2 separate regions of the Homo sapiens genome follow, and region 1 is linked to region 2. The links are contacts of gene promoters, found by promoter capture Hi-C in blood cells and fetal thymus (Javierre and others, 2016). All regions are on one chromosome and are shown on one strand. The core of a region is centred on a gene start or on the middle of the fragment in contact, and the rest is flanking DNA. Distances in the headings are between cores, read along the strand shown.

Evidence for each region. The method cuts DNA at HindIII sites, captures the fragments that hold promoters and counts their contacts. A CHiCAGO score of 5 or more calls a contact.
Region 1: a contact is called between a fragment that was not itself captured here and the fragment with the promoter of MAP2 in region 2, in 2 of 17 cell types (megakaryocytes and endothelial precursors). The highest score is 8.6, in megakaryocytes.

Annotation. Positions count from the first base shown.
Region 1 is chr2:209,330,022-209,335,691 of GRCh38, forward strand. No RefSeq gene overlaps it. Among named protein-coding and RNA genes, the nearest start is that of MAP2, 91 kb to the right of the region's middle. The HindIII fragment of the contact is 4,057 bases long and covers 45-4,101 here.
Region 2 is chr2:209,421,355-209,427,371 of GRCh38, forward strand. MAP2 (microtubule associated protein 2) reads left to right here and starts at 2,693. Exons shown (of 16, transcript NM_001375505.1): 1 at 2,693-2,922. RefSeq lists a silencer at 2,374-2,763. The HindIII fragment of the contact is 4,087 bases long and covers 1-3,858 here.

The DNA of each region.
Region 1 (5,670 bases), core at 823-3,322, 92 kb before region 2:
TCATAGGAATCTCTGATTGGAAAATAAAAACTACATTAGCTGTAAGCTTACTCTGATATTTAAAGGTTTGCATAGTAAAAAGCCTTCAGCTTCTCCCTGTTCTGTCTAGAAAAGTATAAGTTTAAAGTATACCAAGTACAGTCCAAGAGTCAGAACAATGAAAAATAAAATACTTTATTAAGCCTCTATTGACTTAAGTGATCTAAAGGTTTTCATTATTAGGTTAAAGGGTATAGATTACACCAAATTCAAATGCTTTAAGCAAATATTAGCTATCAGGTATCCTTAAAATCAATTGTCATTAGGTAAGAAATAAAGAATCACATCAGATAAGATATTCATTGTAGACTAACTTGTGCAATTTTAGAAAATTAATTTATTCTGCTTTGGTTTGATTTGTAAAATAACAGAGAGACTTCTAGCCCTAAAGTTTACTGGTCCTATGATGATGGGCATTATGTTTCCTTTAAAAGTTTCTCTTTACATCAACTCTTGATTAAACATTATGTAGCTCATACTATTTAATCATTATTTTATTTGTTTAGTCCTACTCCCATGAGAACCCATTAAAATGATGGTAAATACATTTTAAAGGAATAAATTACCATAAAAATGAGAATGAATGGGAAACACCGGGAGAATACCAATCAAGCACATTAGAAGACCTTGACAATGAGATTTAAAAATGGTCTCAGGATAAAATAGGACAATCCACTTGTACCTAATGCTAGGAATATTTTCCATCTAATGGCACAGATATGTGTCATTGCCTTGGTAGAAAAGGTAATGCAACCATGGCACATGACTCTTCTTTGAAATAAGCAGTATTTTTATACTCATAGTGATATAAACTCAGGCTTTGGTTTTTAATTATTAGGTTAAAATTATAAGCAAAATCTGCAGTACTTAATTATCATAAAATAGAATACAAATTTTTCTCAACTTTGAAAAAACTGACAGAAATGAGAGCATAGTGAGGGTAAGACGAGATGATGAAGGGAAGGGGAACATTAGTATTCTCATTATATAAGTGAGAAGTAAAGAATTAGAGGTTTTGCATGTTTGGAGTTGCAGAAGTGATCAGCTAAGACATAGAGAGTGGTGATAACTGAGTAATAGATGGAGAAGCTGAAATTTAAATAAATTTAAGGTTGATATAGTTTTAAAAGTGTCGTAGGTATAGTCCTTAGAGCTATCAGAACAACCACAAAGAAACCTAACATTGATTTTTGCTTTGCTTTGGTTTGATTTTTTAAAATAATGAATCTGGTGTGGGAAAGAGGCAGGACACAGAGTTTTATATTTGATAAAACTGTAATTCAAATATGTATGTGAACCATGTCTTTTTGTCTTTTAAGTACCATATCTTAGATAGATGTTTAGTTGGATTCAGCTTTAAAAAATCACTGTATTTCCATCTTATCTCCAGACCTAAATAGACATCATAACCCAGGTTACCACTGCCATCAAGTGGTGCCTTAGTGGCATTAAGTTGTAGAAAACCTTAAGTAACCAAAACAATCAAATCTATTTGAATGAAGAGAAATACTGTAACTTGCCTTCAGTTTGAATGGTGCCCGAATTACAATATCTAGAAATCTAAGAATAACACTTACCCAAGAGCCTAAAACCATAGGACTTGCTCATGCTAAATGATCCTATTTTGTTCAGATTAACTTTGTTAACATAGAAAGCTGAATGTGAGAAATAATGATCTGATTAATATTAATCCTAATGGTAATATCTTGATTTAAATAATACTTTTTGTTTTTACAAATTTTCAAAGTTGAACAGTTAAACATATATATCCTGGAACCAGATTGCCCCACATGGATGGCTTCAAAACTTACAAAATGTATAATCTTTGGCAATTTATTAAAATTCTCTGTAGCTCAGTTTCCTTCTTTGGAAAATTGAAAAAAATACTACTCCTTACCTTGAATTATTATTGTAAAAGTCCATAAGTTAACATATGTGAAGAGCTTAGAACCATGCCCAGGAAAAGTGTCAGGTGTTTTTATATGAATCTCTAATTTAGCCTTTAAAAAAAATTTTTTGGGGGGGTTTATTTAAAGTGTGTTTTTTTTTATTTTTTAAATTATTATTATACTTTAAGTTTTAGGGTACATGTGCACAATGTGCAGGTTAGTTACATATGTATACATGTGCCATGCTGTTGTGCTGCACCCATTAACTTGTCATTTAGCATTAGGTATATCTCCTAATGCCATCCCTCCCCCCTCCCCCCACCCCACAACAGTCCCCAGAGTGTGATGTTCCCCTTCCTGTGTCCATGTCTTCTCATTGTTCAATTCCCATCTATGAGTGAGAACATGTGGTGTTTGGTTTTTTGTCCTTGCAATAGTTTACTGAGAATGATGATTTCCAATTTCATCCATATCCCTACAAAGGACATGAACTCATCATTTTTTATGGCTGCATAGTATTCCATGGTGTATATGTGCCACATTTTCTTAATCCAGTCTATCATTGTTGGACATTTGGGTTGGTTCCAAGTCTTTGCTATTGTGAATAGTGCCACAATAAACATACGTGTGCATGTGTCTTTATAGCAGCATGATTTATAGTCCTTTGGGTATATACCCAGTAATGGGATGGCTGGGTCAAATGGTATTTCTAGTTCTAGATCCCTGAGGAATCGCCACACTGACTTCCACAATGGTTGAACTAGTTTACAGTCCCACCAACAGTGTCAAAGTGTTCCTATTTCTCCACATCCTCTCCAGCACCTGTTGTTTCCTGACTTTTTAATGATTGCCATTCTAACTGGTGTGAGATGGTATCTCATTGTGGTTTTGATTTGCATTTCTCTGATGGCCAGTGATGATGAGCATTTTTTCATGTGTCTTTTGGCTGCATAAATGTCTTCTTTTGAGAAGTGTCTGTTCATATCCTTCGCCCACTTTTTGATGGGGTTGTTTGTTTTCTTCTTGTAAATTTGTTTGAGTTCATTGTAGATTCTGGATATTAGCCCTTTGTCAGATGAGTAGGTTGCGAAAATTTTCACAGAATTGGAAAAAACTACTTTAAAGTTCATATGGAACCAAAAAAGAGCCCGCATCGCCAAGTCAATCCTAAGCCAAAAGAACAAAGCTGGAGGCATCACGCTACCTGACTTCAAACTATACTACAAGGCTACAGTAACCAAAACAGCATGGTACTGGTACCAAAACAGAGATATAGATCAATGGAACAGAACAGAGCCCTCAGAAATAACGCCGCCTATCTACAACTATCTGATCTTTGACAAACCTGAGAAAAACAAGCAATGGGGAAAGGATTCCCTATTTAATAAATGGTGCTGGGAAAACTGGCTAGCCATATGTAGAAAGCTGAAACTGGATCCCTTCCTCACACCTTATACAAAAATTAATTCAAGATGGATTAAAGACTTAAACGTTAGACCTAAAACCATAAAAACTCTAGAAGAAAACCTAGGCATTACCATTCAGGACATAGGCATGGGCAAGGACTTCATGTCTAAAACACCAAAAGCAATGGCAACAAAAGCCAAAATTGACAAATGGGATCTAATTAAACTAAAGAGCTTCTGCACGCAAAAGAAACTACCGTCAGAGTGAACAGGCAACCTACAAAATGGGAGAAAAATTTTTTTTAAAAAACAAGTGAAGTTAGGACACTATGACTCTTCACTATTACTTATCATGTAAAAGATGAGAAAACAGAACTACAGATTGTCTCTTTACCATGGTAAAGTTAGGAGCTCCAAACTAATCTGTGTTACAAAATGTAAAAAACCAATAAAGGATTACTCTAAACAAAGACTGAAAACTTAGATTTCTGATGTAGAAAAATAATACATAATAATGACCACAAATGCGTTTTCCCTAATTACACTTGAAATATGCTTATATTTTGTGTTTTTTTCTATTTTGTACACATGATATATTTAATGAGGTATTTTAAATGAGGACTGAGTAAGCCCTTCCTCTGTGTTGCCTACGTTTTTCACACCCCCAACCATTCCACCCTCACCCTAGCTTGTTTTGTTCTCACATAAAACTTTAAAATTTGATTAAGTAAAAATAATTGCTTTCAGATGACCTATTATGTTCCATAAGCTTTACATAGTTTATTTCATTTGATCTTTACAATAAAACTTGTACTACTGCCATCTCCACTTCTGTCTCCCCATACTTTTTTAAAGAAATAATCATCTTGATGTAACTGAATAACTTAAGACATTGATATATGAGTGTTGCATTACAATTATATAACAACTATATAAAAAATTTAAATAAGCAACTGAAAGGCATAAATAAAACATACTCTTTGGTATTTTCAATTGTTCCTGTGACTGCTACCATATGAATAACCACTCTAGGCTGCTGAAGAATGAGACACGTCATCACCATCATCCCAGCTAACACCTATCCAACTGCTAGACACATGAATGAGGCTATTTAGGTGATTTTTACTCAATATTTCTATTATTTATGCCAATAAGAGTGACAGTACCCTGTAAAGAAGCTACTATGCAATGGGACCCAGAGTTCTTTTAGCGCTAAAACGACATTTTAACAGGTGAAACCTAAAGCTGTATAGCATCTATTTGACCTGTAGAGGGCACCAGCGGCCCAGACAGCAGAATTAATTGCATTTCATTCGGTTTAGACTTGGAAATAAAAACTCTCCTTGCCCTGCACACTCGCTGTGGATTGTCGATGCCAGTGAAAGCCAGCATTAACACTCCCCTGGAGATTTCAGCATGCCATCTCATGGCTGAGTTTCAGATGGGGCCTCAAATTCATATAATTTAGTTCTATTAAAAGCTTTGCAAATTATTAAGATTATTTTTTATCTTAATAAAAGATAAACAGTTTTTAGAAAATTAGGATACAATCCAAATTCTAAAAATTATTAAATCATTTGTAGTGTCATAATAGAAAAACACTCAGAATAGTGAAGCTTCATTATTCAGTCTAGCAAAAAACCTGTTCACCTGAATTAGCAAAAAAGTTCCAATTTTTCTGTAAATACATTTCTTCCTAATTAAGTTAATATCCCTTGATTCATTCAAGTTATTTCCTTAAAAAGGTATATTAAGTTTAAAAGCAAAACAGACCAAATGCATGGCCTTTGCTATCAAACCCCCCTAGCCCAAATCTCACCTCTGTCACTAGTTAGCTGGGTGTCAGAGGTCACTTCTCTTAGCCTCAGTTCCTTTATCTGTAAATAAGAAAAATAAAAATACTTGCTTTATATTATTGTGAAAATTAAATTAGACAATGTGTAAAAATGCTTAGCACAATGTAAGTGCATACAGTCTTGGCAAACAATGATTCCATTACTGAATAGGTACTATTAAGTTGTTATTAGCTTATTAATAGTTTTTGTATAGTGCTTGCTGCAAGGAAAATAATTTCTCTGACATGTCAATACACTAATATTTAAATTAATGTATACAGTTTCTAGGAAATCCTCAGCCACATTTACTTTTGTCTTGGAGATTCACTTTTAGTCAAAGAAGAAAATATTCTTAGGGCTAGTGAAGAGGGTAGCTACTAAAACACGCATTTTCAAACATATTTTTAGATATTAAATAGAAATTTGTTCCCTTGAAATTTTGGAAGCTTAATTCTTGCAATGTTATAAGTAATTAGGTGGCTATAAAGATAATTCATTAAT
Region 2 (6,017 bases), core at 1,443-3,942:
ATGACCACCCTGTATCAATCACTATACATTAGGAGAACAGGTTCTACTATAGAGTTAGCCAGGGTCACATGTCCACCTCTGAGAAAGAGAAGAGAGGCACACATTTTACTAGCATATGGGGAATCATATGAAAAGGATCATTACTCTAAGGAAGGGATGCTTTGCTGAGGGAAAAAAAAAAGTTCACTTCAACACAAAGATCCCTCCTTAAACCAGAAGCCTAAACATATGGAGTCCCCTCCTAAAGTTGTTTGACATCCCAGGGCACTGACTCCTGCAAACTGTATTTCTTAGGCTGCTTTGTCAACTGACTTTCTTCTAGGTTCACCCAATGACAGGGTTTTGAAATACAGGTTAAAGGAGGGCCACAATATTTCTTTTCACTCTCAGCTTTTGGAGGACCCTCCAGCATTATCTGTCTCCCAGTAAGCATCTCCACTGTGGTCTCAGTTCCTTTAATGTAGCTTGTGCTCCTCATTCCTGGTAAAGCCTCCTCTCTAGCACTCCCCAGCCTGAGAGTGGTAGTACTTTCCTGCTAGTAACTATCATCGTGTTGCCTCATCATCCCCTAGTTGGCTTTTTAGTCATTTGAATCCTTTGTAATTTGTTCCCCATATTAAATTCTCTCTATTGAATTACAACATATAGATGCTATTTTTCTGAAAGAACTCTAAGATGTGTGTCGAGAGGAGGCAATCTCCCATATAAGGACCAGGTTCCCCAAAGAGAAAAGCCATTAGAGTTTGGCTGCCTCAGCTAATCTTAAAGTGGAGGAAAAAACAAACAAACAAACAAACAAACAAAAACAAAAAGTGCTGAGGAACACTGTACTTTAAACTATCAGAGAAATAATGTCTTTTTTATTGCTGTTTTTTAGAGACAGGGTCTCACTCTGTCACCCAGGCTGGAGTGCAGTGGTGTAATCATAACTCACTGCACCCTCAAACTTCTGGCTTCAAGCGATACTCCCTCCTGAGCTGCTGGGATTACAGGTGTGAGCCACCGCTCCTGGCCCTGGAAAATTACTCTCATTGAGCACCTGCGCCTGCATGCCTGGTCATGAATGTCAGCTGCTAACACTCTGGTAGCATGCCTACTCCTTCCTCCCATCCACATACTGTCTATGATTTCCTAGTCTCCTAAGACCTCCTTCTCAGTAAGGCCATCTTCCGAGGAGGAGCATCAACTCCTCCAACCTCCCAGCTCCTGGGTGTGCCTTGATACTTCCAAACTCACTGCAAGCGTCACTGGCACATGGTATGAAGCAGAGCGGGGGAGGCAGGACACAGAGCACTGGGTGTGACTGGGGAGGGCAGGCTTTCACAGCTTCCTCTGTGATGGTTTCTAATCCTTGCAGGCTCCCACCATTGGGTCTCTTTCCATCTGAAAATGGAGGAAATTAGACCAGCTGCCTAAAACATCAACTCTAATGTTCTAGGTTCTAAGATTCTGTGGTTAATTTAAGTGACAGAACCACATTATGGCTGCTGTTTCATCAGCACTGTGAAGACTGTACAAGCCACACCTCAGTATGTTGGCTGACCTTAAAAACACCTTGTCAGTACTTGATATAGACACTCGAAGTAATTCTAAGTTGCATCTTACTTTTCTTACTTACAATAAAATGCTGCTCTCTGATTATGAAGATTCATACTCCTTAGTACGAATGGTAAAGAATCATTTGTTTTCTCAGGTGGTCATTTCACTTTCAAAAGCATTTAAGAGGCAATTTTTTTAAGGGTGATATTTCAAGGTCAACACTTTCCGTGCTTTCTAATTCATTGTATTTGTATCATTCTTCAAAGATCCTTCATATTCATTATCTTTTTAAGCATAAGAGAATTGGGCTGTCATTTTTAGTTCTCATATGACACATGAATACACTGAGAGTTAGATTAAGTGAACTGTCTCTAGAGCATACGTCTGGCTATCTAGAATGTAATAACTATAAAGGGAGGGGATCTTTCTTATTAGGGTTGTGGGAAAGGTCTGTCACTGATGTTTCTAATGCTTAGAAGAGTGCCTGACACATAGTAGGTGTCAATAAACATTCGTTGACTCAATAAATGAATGAATCTAATTCGTGACAGAGCTGGGTCTAGAATTCTCTACTCCCTCAGCCATTGCTCCTTTAGTGCTGACAAGAGTTGTTCTATGTTCTCAAGCGCCCCACATTCCTTTGTCTTTTCTGGATGCACCTGTGGTTGGGTTTGTGAGGCGAGGCCAGTGAGCTTTCCTGGTGAGGTGCCACTGGCAACCCCGCCTCATAGCGACACAGGGGAGGGAAGCAGGGGGTCTGCGGAGGTTGCTCCCGAGAGACTAAAGCTGTTGCCCCCGATTTTCCAAGGACGCCAGTGAGGAAGGCCCGCCTGTCCCGCCGCCCGGGCACTGGCCTCACTTTGTCGCGGGAGGGGACCAGGGCTCTGGAGAAGGCCCGGGCCAGCGGCTGGGCGGGGCTCTCCGAGGCTCCCACCTCGCGGTCCCCGCCTGGCGGCCGGCGGCTGCGGCAGAAGGCGAAGCGGTCGTGCTCCCCCTCCCGGACACTGCGGCGGTGGCAGCGCCAGCCCCGCCGCGGCCGCCCACGGGCTCGCGGAGTCTGGCGGGACCTGCGCGGGGCGGGACCTGCGCGGGGCGGGGAGGAGGGGCCGAGGCGGAGCTGCTGCGCTGGGAGCCGGCTGGGGGCGCCGCTCTCAGTCTGGGGCGGGCGCTCGGGCTGCGCGGGCTCTGGGCAGCAGCAGCAGCAGCAGCAGCATCCTCTCTTCCTTTACTTCCCTTCCGCTTCTTTCTCTTCCTTCTCCTTCTTTTTCCCCCCCCTCCCCTTCTTCCCCTAACCCTTCTACCCCTCTCCTTTTTCTCCGGAGGGCGCTAAGTCCGTGAGCGGTGGCAGTCGCGACCGCGGGTGCATCCAGTTTCTGCGCCCAGGTAAGAGACCGTCCCCACCTCTGGCTCTATGTAGGGCGCCTCTCCTTTTGCCTCGGTCTCTGAGTAGAAAGAGATAGGAATGGGGAGGGGTTGTGTCTCGTCCTCTGGGACTCGCAGCAGGCAGTCTGGTAGTTGGTCGAGTGGCCAGCCGTGCACCTGGCGGAAGATTCGGGCCTGTCCTCTCCAGGTGTCACTGCGGAGCAGGGGGCCGGACGCTACTGGTACCTGAGCCCTGGCTTCGTAGAAGAGCGAGTGAGCTTGTTAGGTACCACTTTGAAACAACTGAAAACTTACGCCAGGTTAGAATACGTGTATCGAAAGCCAGTATTACCTGCGCTGTGGAAAGAAGGGGAGTGGATTCTACAAAGATAGTGGAAAATAGGAAATCGAGGTAGGGGATTTTTTTGTTCATCCAGCTGCAGAGAACTGCACACTGGGAAGTGAGTGAGTGAGGGAAGCCTTGTCCATTTCAAATCATGTTTCTCTGTAATTCCTTCAGAAACAGCTGGGAGAGGAGGACTGATATTTATAATTGTAGGAAAATGAAAAATAAATGCCTGGTGGTGTTGGAGGGCGGGGCACGAAGAAATGAGTCTGGTTAGGCTTCCACACAGTCGTTTTTCTTTTTAAACGTTGGGGGTGGACCTCTGAATCTACAGTGCATCTATTCTTTTCTTCCTTTTCTTTTTAAAAGGCTTTTTTGGTGGGGAGAGGAGGACTGCAGTGCTGGCTGCCTGCCTTCCCCCACCTCGTCTTTTGTTTAAGGATGGAAATTTCAAGAAAGAGTGTGTGGGGGGCTAGGAGTGGGGAGCTGTATATTTGGGTGTGTATAGGGGGAGGGGTATGGATGGAGTCAGAAAAAAAATCCTTGAAAACTGGAAATTAATGTTATTCTGCCTGGCATCCGGACTTCAGGATTTTTGTCAGAAAATAAAAAGCTTTCATTAGCAACAAGCCCGTTTGTGACAATTGCTGTGTGCCATCTGTCGTAAGCTCTTAGCACAATGCTTCCAGGACATAGACGCTTTAAAATTGAGTCCGGTGTAAAGGGTTTTTGTTTAAATGCCTAAACACACAAGTATGCACACAAATGTATAATACACTATATACATGTTACAAAAGGAAATAGGTACTTAAGAGACTGATTTTTTAAAATTGTATTTGAGGGTTTGGAAATTATGTTGTGAATAAAATCTGTAGTGCAAAACAAAAAAATATTGTTGGGTGGTATATAATTTTGGGTGTGAGGCAAAGGGATTGATGACTGTTGGTAAGGAACTAATTTAAATGTTAAAGGTATAATTTATTTTAAAATGATCAGTCTAGAAAAGGAAATGATTGCAAACTGAAATTGAGGTTTGCAGCCACAGTGAGGCGATGGAGAACAAAGCCTTCTATGTGAGCCACATTATGCAAAATGTCCCATGCATGAGCTGCAGGTACCAGCCCAGTTCAAAAGCATAGTTCTTTCACTATGTCATTTCACTGTGGACAATTATGATTTTTTTTGGCAGTCAAATAGATTGAATAAATAGAAGCCCTTTAGAATGCTTTTAATTTTATGCCCAGGGAAAAGATTACAGCCTTCCATCAGAATATAACACAAAGCAGCCCTTTAACCGGGCAATAGGTGTATTTTGGTAGAAATCCTTGTGAATTTGCAAATCATGGATGTTCCAAAAGCCCCAGCCCCATGCACACAAAGAACCCTTCCTTCAAGAAAAAAGGCATTTTTCTCATTCAGTAAGGATTATTATATTTGTGTGTGTATGTTTATGTTGATTTCCTGGTAATTTCATCTGATTATCATAGGTGTACATCTGCATTCATGATTTGTATATTATCAGAGCCATTGTGGCTTTAGGATCAGTGGTACATGCTGTTTATCTGTGGTTTATTTAATTTTAATTTTTCATATTTTACAGTTTGCTACAATATTATTTAATGTCCAAAGTTTTCTTTTTTAAAACCATAAGTAGAAAATTGCTTAACACACATCTGAAGATCTAAGTAATTTAAAAATAGAGCTACCTTTTATAAAATAATATTTTAGTTATATTAATTTTTATTTTATTTATCTCCTCTCTTATTTTTTTCCCTTTTCTAATCAAATAACCTGTTTCTTTATGGCTGCTTTAGTCTTCTATACTGCCATAGGAGGGCCAGTGTTTTCAAGAATTTTGAATTTAGGATTGTTCATTCTCTGCAGCACCTCTCAGGATGACTTGTTTACAGCACCTTCTCAGGGAGGAGACAGGGAAAGAATGTGCTGAAAGAGCATGACCCAGTGAAACTGGCACAGCCATTACCTCATCCTAGTAGGTACTTCAGATTCATTGAGAGAGCAGGCATCCTCTCAGTGGAAACCAAACACCAGGAGCACACCCATCTCAGGGCAAAAGCCTTTCTCTTCCCATAGCAGCCTTTACTAATGTCATTCCACTGAGGTTAAAGGGATATTTTCTCTTTTATGTATTCCTTTTCAGGGATCTTGAACTTGGTTAGAAATATGTAGCCAGAAATGAAACTTGGCACAGAATCCTCTAAGCCTGAAGGAATAATTTCATTCCTTTACCCCTTTTGGTTTAAACCAGTTCGCAAATTTTCTAAACATCAGAAGGGAAAAGGAAGAAAAATGTTGGTGTATTTTTGTGTATTTTCTTATCACACACACATATTTTGTATTGAATTTTACTAGCAGTTAGACAACAGACTGGACATGCTATTAACAAATGTAGTTGCACTGTTGGCATTTTAAAAAATCATTATTACATTTGCTTATAGGACAATAGGTGCATCCTTCAGTGATTCATTGATGTCCTTTTGAGACTGACCATATGAAACTGACATGGGGATTTTAGTATTCAAGTTGGTAACTCTGATTATTGAATCCTTTCAATACTTAATTTCCTCTTAACAGATTAAGATAAAGAATCTGAAATAATAGTTACAGTAGAAGATAGCACCACCCCCAGATCAATACTATCCTCCTTAATGCTAAAAGTAGTCACTTTAGGTAAGTCATTAGTAAATGCATGAACCTGAAGATAACAGTTTTGAAACAATCTCAAATTTTTTTGTCTCTGTTATAGATT